Linked DNA regions of Homo sapiens: region 1 is linked to region 2. Evidence: promoter capture Hi-C in human tissues and cell types (Jung and others, 2019). All regions are on one chromosome and are shown on one strand. The core of a region is centred on a gene start or on the middle of the fragment in contact, and the rest is flanking DNA. Distances in the headings are between cores, read along the strand shown.

Evidence for each region. The method cuts DNA at HindIII sites, captures the fragments that hold promoters and counts their contacts. A contact is called where the count stands out against the background at its distance.
Region 1: a contact is called between the fragment with the promoter of RFX5 here and the fragment with the promoter of TMOD4 in region 2, in 1 of the 25 tissues and cell types used here (adrenal gland).

Annotation. Positions count from the first base shown.
Region 1 is chr1:151,346,002-151,350,245 of GRCh38, reverse strand. It overlaps RFX5 (regulatory factor X5), which reads left to right and starts at 2,994. Exons shown (of 11, transcript NM_001025603.2): 1 at 2,994-3,035; 2 at 3,640-3,757; 3 at 3,913-4,041. The coding sequence starts at 3,926. It overlaps RFX5-AS1 (RFX5 antisense RNA 1), which reads right to left and starts at 3,236. Exons shown (of 2, transcript NR_131972.1): 1 at 3,058-3,236; 2 at 2,355-2,614. RefSeq lists enhancers at 2,580-2,929, 2,896-3,478, 2,533-3,732, 4,072-4,161. The HindIII fragment of the contact is 16,924 bases long and covers 1-4,244 here.
Region 2 is chr1:151,174,579-151,178,889 of GRCh38, reverse strand. TMOD4 (tropomodulin 4) reads left to right here and starts at 2,909. Exons shown (of 10, transcript NM_013353.3): 1 at 2,909-2,966; 2 at 3,973-4,137. The coding sequence starts at 4,015. It overlaps VPS72 (vacuolar protein sorting 72 homolog), which reads left to right. Exons shown (of 6, transcript NM_005997.3): 5 at 745-889; 6 at 1,859-2,586. The coding sequence ends at 2,246. The HindIII fragment of the contact is 10,118 bases long and covers 1-4,311 here.

The DNA.
Region 1 (4,244 bases), core at 1,745-4,244, 170 kb before region 2:
ATGATACTTTCTCCCCCCTTACTAAAGCTTCCAGTTTTTCCCTGTTATCTGCAAATTTTTAAGCTAGATAACTTACCCAAAACTCTGTTTGCAACCAAAGTGCTCTAGGTTCTCCTTCATACCAAACAGTGGTGTTAGGGCTATCTTTCCATCAGTCTATATCCATATTTGGCTTGCTATTTATTTATTTATTTATTTAGAGATGGAGTTTCGCTCTTGTTGCCCAGGCTGGAGTGCAATGGCATGATCTCGGCTCACCCAACCTCCGCCTCCCAGGTTCAAGCAATTCTCCTGCCTCAGCCTGCCAAGTAGCTGGGATTACAGGCATGCACCACCACGACTGGCTAATTTTGTTTTGTTTTTTGTTTTGTTTTTTGTTTTTTGTTTTTAGTAGAGACGGGGTTTCTCCATGTTGGTCAGGCTGGTCTCAAACTGACCTCAGGTGATCTGCCCACCTCAGCCTCCCAAAGTGCTGGGATTATAGGCATGAGCCACCACACCAGCCGGCTTTTTTTTTGTTTTTTGTTTGTTTGTTTGTTTTGAGACAGGGTCTTACTCTGTCACCCAGGCTGCACGACAGAGTGGTGCAATCATAGCTCACTGCAGCCTCGAACTCATGGGTAATAGTGATCCTCCTGCTTCAGCCTCCCAAGTTGCTGGAACCACAGGCATGTACCACCACACCTGGCTGTGTGTGGTGTGTGTGTGTGTGTGTGTGTGTGTGTGTGTGTGTGTGTGTGTGTGTGTTTAGAGAGAGACAGAGTCTCACTTTGTTGCCCAGGCTGGTCTCAAACTCCTGGCCCCAAGCAATCCTCTTGCCTTTGCCTCCCAAAGTATTGAGATTATAGGCATGAGCCATCATGTCCAGCCCGTTATACCCATATTTATTTATGAGTATCTGCAAATATGTATACATGCAGTCTAAGGCAGTGCTCAAAACAATCAGCTTTGAGGCAGACTGCCTGCCTTTGGATCCTGATTCTAGCACTTTCTACATATATGACTAAGGACAAGTCCCTTCACCTCTCCACATTGGTTTCCTCATCTGTAAAATGGAGACAGTAACAGTACCTACTTCAGAGAGTTGCTGTGAGCATTACACGAGGTGTTTAGCATTTGGTATGGTGTCTGATACCTAATAAACACCAAATAAATTTTTGTTTGTTTTTGTTTGAGACGGAGTTTCGCTCTTGTTGCCAGGCTGTAGTGTAATGGCACAATCCTCCGCCTCCCCAGTTCAAGTGATTCTCCTGCCTCAGCCTCCCGAGTAGCTGGGATTACAGGCATGCGCCACCACGCCCGGCTAATCTTGTATTTTTAGTAGAGACGGGGTTTCTTCATGTTGGTCAAGCTGGTCTCGAACTCCCAACCTTAGGTGATCCGCCCACCTCAGCCTCCCAAAGTTTTGGGATTACAGGCGTGAGCCACCGCGCCTGGCCTAATAAACACCAAATAAATTTTAGCTGTTATTAGAAAACCTGGCCAGGTGCAGTGGCTCACACCTGTAATCCCAGCACTTTGGGAGGCCAAGGCAGGTGGATCACCTGAAGTCAGGAGTTTGAGACCAGCCTGACCAACATGGTGAAACTCCGTCTCTACTAAAAACACAAAAATTATCTGGGCGTGGTGATGCACGTCTGTAAACCCAGTTACTCGGGAGGGTGAGGCAGGAGAATCGCTTGAACCCAGGAGGCGGAGGTTGCAGTGAGCCAAGATCGTGCCATTGCACTCCAGCCTGGGCAACAGAGCGAGACTCCGTCTCAAAGAAAAAAAAAAAAGAAAGAAAGAAAGAAAAAAGAAAACCTCTTGCCAATATATCCTTATTGCCCCAACTCCACAATCTCCTGGGTTCCCCCAGCACTCATAGAAGCTGATAATAGGGAAAGGTAGGCTGTAAAGGGCAATGGTGATGAGCTCAGGCAGCACTACTGTCTTCTTTACAAAAGCACATTAATGATGAGCCTGGAGAACATATTAGATGTCAGGATGGCAAATACAGTTTTGGTTGTAACATGACCGCTGCGCAAAACAAAATACATCCATGTAAGAGGCTTTCAACCTGGAGTCCATGACCTCTCTGAAATTAGATGCAAAACTTGGTCTCTGTGTGCATTTTTCATGGTAGAGGGTCCATTGCTTTTGTCTGATTCATAACCTTAAAATGTCTTAAGTAAGAGGGTTAAGAACCCATGACCTATTCAGTACAATGTTCCCTGAGTGTAAAAAGTTCCTGTGGCATCCAGCACCCCCGTGGGAGTCCATCAAAATTCCAGGGTTCACCGACTGCAGAACTATGGGGATGCAAATGCATTTGCAACTCTTTGGAAGTAAAGTACACACGGGAAACCAAGAAATACTAAGAGGGAAAAAGCATTTTAGTTTAATGGGTACAACTGCTGAGGTTTTGAGGCCTCCATCAAGAAGGAAAAGAGAGCCCAGATTGCAGGTCTGTTGCGAGTAAGTGTGTCTGCAGGTTGTATTAGGCATGTGGTGATGGTGATGGGGGGTTATAGGAGCTTACAGTGAACTTCCATCACTCCTACCCATCATTGTCTAGTTATTTTATCATCCATTGATTCTTCTCTTCCGGCAGCTCTGAGGACCGTAGACTAAACTGAAACACAAAAGGGGAGGGCAAAAGAAAAGACAGTTCCAAAGGGAGCCGAGCGCCCGTTCTTTCATCCTGCGGTCCCTTTAAGAGAAGAACCTCTTGGGACCTGCAGTCCCAACCGACCCCAGTTTTAACCGAAACCCAACCCGGACTTCCCCCTCTTGACTCAAATAAGACCAACTTTGGATTTTCCCTCCCCTATTGACCAATCAGATTCTGTTACCAGGCAGACTTCAGCGGCCGCCGGTACGAGCCCGGCGCCTTCTGTCTCCGGGTGGCAGCAGTGACCAATGACAGAGCAGGCCGCCCGTGTATCTAGGCAGATCGCGGCTGTTACAACCATTCAGAAAAAGGAAAATAAAGCAACGCACGAGCCGGCTGGGCCAGGACCTTGGGGCTGGGCTGGAGTGAAGGTGGCTACGAGGTAGTTTCTCTTTCTCCCTTACCTTTATTGTTGCTTGTGTTGGAAGGCGACTGTTCAGAGGTAGGGAGGGGCAAGATGAGTTGGGAGGAGAGCAGAAAAAGATTGTAGCTGTATTTTCAACAGCTTCTTCACCCATGTGCACGTGCCCGGAATCTGGGACCCCATTCCCCTGCCGGGTTTCTGACGCCCAGCGCATGAGTTCCGCTACCCCGCCCCACCCCCGCTCCACTTTGCAGAAACCGGGGATTGAATGGAGGGGGAAGGGAAGGAGGTGGGGGCGCGCCTCAGGATGGGCTGTTGTGGGAGATGACGTAGGGGCCGGCGACGTGGGGAGGGGGAGCAGCGGGGGAAGTCGTGGCGAGATTAAGTAATGAGAACTTGGGCCCAGTTTTTTTTCCAAGCCTAGAAGGGCAGAATATGTTCGTATCCTTTCTGACCTCCCAGGCATATGCAATGGTGAGGAGTATTTTTGAGAATTAGAGAACTTTGTTTTGTGGCTGTTATTGTTGTTTTTGAGGGGGAGGAGGGCAGTATGGGGTCAGAGGCAGAAATGAAAATTTCTTGCTAACATGGATTCCCAATCCCCCTATCTCTTCCTTTACAGTTTTCCAGATTTAGGAGACTTCAGAAAGGTGGGGCAGATAGAATGGAGATGGCAAAGATCTCTTTGGGCATATATGGGCCTGGCGAAGTAATGGAATAATTTCTAATTTTCGGAGAAGGCAAGTGGTGAGAAAAAGACCACCGGGGAAATTCGGAGGCTTTGTTTCTGTTTCTCTGCCTTTCTGGGTAAAGAGATGAGGAGTGCCCTGGGGCCTTCTGGGGAAGGGAAGGCCAGTGTGAGTTACATCTTTATGCCTGTCCCTCTCAATTCTAGCCCTCATGCCGGGATGGCAGAAGATGAGCCTGATGCTAAGAGCCCCAAGACTGGGGGAAGGGCCCCCCCAGGTGGTGCTGAGGCTGGGGAACCTACCACCCTTCTTCAGAGGCTCCGAGGTACCATTTCGTAAGTACTCATCACATCTCCAAGTCCTGTCCAAGACCTGAGTATAGATCCCTGCAGCACTTCACTTTGGCTGTAGATGAACTGCCTCTCAGCAAGGGCATGGGAGCAGAGGGAGATTTTTGGCCATGGTAGCAATTCTTGAGCACCTGCTGGGCATTTCAGTCCTTTTCCCTCCCTAGCAGTCAGATAAAGAGACAGGGAAA
Region 2 (4,311 bases), core at 1,660-4,159:
AGGAGACATATATACCAATAGTGCATCGCCATGGAGCAGTATCACGGAGACCAGGCAGGTAACATGAAGTGTGCAGCCAGCCAGAGGGATGGTGGTGAACTGGAGAGGAGTGCCTGAAAGGAGGAACAGTTACTCAGCTCAGCTAATTGTTCCCCTGTAAGAATGCAGACCCAGGGTTGCGAGATTTTCTTGTTGTTTAAGAGCGACCAGAAATCTCTATATTTAAATATAATTTCCTACCTTACTAATTTTTTTTTTGGAGATATGATCTCACTCTGCTGCCTAGGCTGGAGTGCAATGTGGTGCCATCTCAGCTCACTGCAACCTCCACCTCCCTGGCTCAAGCGATCCTTCCACCTCAGCTTCCCAAGTAGCTGGGATTACAGGCGTGTGCCAGCACACCCAGCTGTAGGAGTGAATTGACAGGGCATTTGTAGAGGAGATTTTGGTATCTGGGAAAGCAAATAAGCTCCTCATCAAAGGGTACCTTCCAACTCTGAGGTACTATAGAGGGCCCAGGTGTACTTGAGAAATGAGCAGAGAGGATGTCAAGAAAAAACTTATAAGCAGAAAACTTACAAAATGGGAGGTGCCAGACGGCCTTAGGGGACTTCCATAGTTGTCTCTGGTAGTTGGCAGTGACTAGATAGCCAGGAAGATAATTGAGAGATCGTGGGACAGTACTGGGATATGGGAAAAAGGGACATTCTGATCATCCCCTCATTTCTTCCTTTGACCCTAAAGAGACATATGAGCGGCTCGAGGCTGATAAAAAGAAGCAGGTTCATAAGAAGCGGAAGTGCCCCGGGCCCATAATCACCTATCATTCAGTGACAGTGCCACTTGTTGGGGAGCCAGGCCCCAAGGAAGAGAACGTTGACATAGAAGGGTGAGTGAATCTCAAGAGGAAAAGAGATTGTGTGTTCAGCTCATGTTCTCTTGGCCCCATTTTGCTTGCTTTTCTCACACAGCTCTCCTTAACACTTGGAGATTTCTTTCAGATTCCTAACTCCCTTCAGCTCAATTTCTTTTTCTTTTTTTTTTTTTGAGACATGATGCTGCTCTGTCACCTAGGCTGGAATGCAGTGGTGCAGTCTCGGCTCACTGCAACCTCCACCTCCTGTGCTCAGGCGATCCTCCCACCTTAGCCTCCCAAGTAGCTGGGAGTACAGCCACACATGCTAATTTTTGTATTTTTTGTAGAGACGGTTTCGCTGTGTTGCCCAGACTCCTGGGTTAAAGTAATCGTCCCGCTTCATCTTCCTAAAATACTGGGATTACAGGTGTGAGCCACCGCGCCCAGCCCAGCTTATTTCTTTCTTATTCCTTTTTCTTTTAGCTTCTCTGTTCTTCTCTTTCCTGTTTTTCCTTCTAGCCTAGCTTTCTTTTCCCATCAGTCACTTAGTACGTTCCTCAGAATGTTCCCAACACCCTGCCTCCTTTTTCTCTTTCCTCATCTCTCTGATTTCCTTCTTTCTTTCTTTTCTTTTTTTTTTTTTTTTGAGATGGAGTCTCGCTGCTCTGTCACCCAGGCTGGAGTGTAATGGCACGATCTTGGTTCCATGCAACCTCCGCCTCCTGGCTTCAAGTGATTCTCCTGCCTCAACCTCCTGAGTAGCTGTGATTACAGGCATCCGCCACCACGCCCGGCTAATTTTTGTATTTTTAGTAGAGACAGGGTTTCACCTTGTTAGTCAGGCTGGTCTCGAACTCCTGACCTCGTCATCTGCCTGCCTCAGCCTCCCAAAGTGCTGGAATTACAGGTGTGAGCCACTGCACCCAGCCTGATTTCCTTCTTTCTGTATCTGTTGTCTTCTCTCCTCAGCTCTTTGTGTTTTTCCTTGTCTTTTGTCCTCAGACTTGATCCTGCTCCCTCGGTGTCTGCATTGACTCCTCATGCTGGGACTGGACCCGTCAACCCCCCTGCTCGCTGCTCACGTACCTTCATCACTTTTAGTGATGATGCAACTTTCGAGGAATGGTTCCCCCAAGGGCGGCCCCCAAAAGTCCCTGTTCGTGAGGTCTGTCCAGTGACCCATCGTCCAGCCCTATACCGGGACCCTGTTACAGACATACCCTATGCCACTGCTCGAGCCTTCAAGATCATTCGTGAGGCTTACAAGAAGTACATTACTGCCCATGGACTGCCGCCCACTGCCTCAGCCCTGGGCCCCGGCCCGCCACCTCCTGAGCCCCTCCCTGGCTCTGGGCCCCGAGCCTTGCGCCAGAAAATTGTCATTAAATGAAGAGATGTCTAGTCCTCAGAAACTTCTTTCCTGCCCTGATTGGGGCTCTTGCTGTTCCGTTTCTTCTCCCTGCTTCTCCCCTTTGTCATCTCTGATCTTTGCCTAATCTGTTTCTTTTTCCTTTTCCCCTAGTTCTTACAGGTTTCGTTGTGTTTTTTAATCTAATAAAATAGAAAGATCCCTTTTGTCTGGTGTCCAGTCTAGGGTTGGGAGCAAGAAGTATTTGAATACCTGCATATATTTGGGTCTTTATTCGATAGCATTTATTATGAGCTGTCCTTTCTAAATTGTATTCATTCCTCCAACTAAATTATAAACATCTGAAAATTGCACACCAAAACACATCCTTGTATTGACCTTCCTATCACTTTACACTCACTGTTTTGAATACAGCAGGCACCAAATAAGGAGGAACTGGCTGATTCTAGTCGAACTCATATGTCTCAGACTGGGGCTTGTATGAAGGGAAGTGGAAGAGATGCCATGGCTGTTAATGACCACTAGAGGCTCTCAGGGCTGGGCAGGGTATGGGGGCTGTGTATATGTGATCTCCCACTACCCCCCACCTGGCCAGAGCTAAAATAATAAAATGCTGAGCTCACTGTTCCCCCACCCTCTCCCCCGGCACCGGGCTCCTCCTGCTGCTGGGACAGTGCTCTAGTAGAACAGACAGACCTACTGACACAGGGGAGGTGAGAAGGGAGGTGACCACCAGGACTGGTAGGTGGGGAAGACAGGGGGCTTATGGATGAGAGCCCGGTGGGAGATGGGAGGAGAAGAGTGGCTCCTATGGGGAATGATGTGGAGTGTGTCCCTGTCTCTGTCACTCAGTGTATATTTCTGCCACTGTGCCGTCCTACCCCTTAACTGTGTATAGTTTACATTGTCGATGTGTCTCACATACTTTCTGGATCTTTCATATTCAGCATGGTGTGTATGCATAGCTCCTTATGCGTATCTTATATTGTACAAAATTGTGCGAGTTTAATATTCCCACTGTTTTTAAAGAAACTTTACCCTATTTACACCCATTGGTCTGGTGTCACCTTCCTGTCCAAAGCAAGGGACAGATTATGGGGACTCACAGAGGCCTTACTACCCTTCCCCCAACCTGGAAGTCCCCCAACTGCTCCGAGCCCTTGCTTTCCCTTAAGACTTCAAATTTTAGCAAACACAGAAAGTGAAATCTTGATCCCCCACAATAAAAGGGAAATGAGGATGGGGTAAGAGACTCTCTCTTCCCCTTACACCTCATTGTCCTTGGTTTTTTTATCCGGTTTAGGAAAAAGCCTGGATTATGAGGAGGAGAGGAGGAATTTCCCTGAAGCTCTCTATTCCCCCACCCCTCATCCCCTTTCAATAGGAACTGGGCATAGGACCAGCTGTGTTGGCAGGGCTTCCAGCAGCTGTGTTAGGGCGAAGGCACTGACAAGTGAGGTTATAGGGGAGGGGTGCTGCCAGGATTTCTCTGTCATACCGTGGGAAGACAAACCCAGCTTAGATGTCTGGGATCCCCATCCAGAGTGGCTGGAAGCTGGGGAAGCAGAAAGGAGACTCTAGTTCTAACTCTAAACAACCTAATCTTCCCCACTTCCCATCCTCAACTAGACTTCTAATCTCCAAGAAATCCAATCCAATGTTCTGCCCCCCTGGCTGGTCTCTTTGTGTCCCTGCTGTGTCCCTGTCCATCTTACCATTGTCCATCCTTTTGTCCCATGTTGCCCAGGCTCTGTGAGTACCACACAGTGGGGAGGGGGTGGGGGCCACCATGTCATCATATCAGAAGGAACTGGAGAAATACAGAGACATAGATGAAGATGAGATCCTAAGGACCTTGAGCCCCGAGGAGCTAGAGCAGCTGGACTGCGAACTACAGGAGATGGATCCTGAGGTAGGGGCTCCAGCACAGGGAACCAGAGGCAGTCCCAGGCATTTGGGAAGGGTGTTGGGCTCTGGGTGGCTGAGAATAGGGTTTGCTACAGGACCTAGGGTCCTAAGAAGGCCAGGGGAAAGGTGTCCGGTGATGTTTTAGGGAGCCCTAGCAGTACCTAGGTCAGAGGGGAGG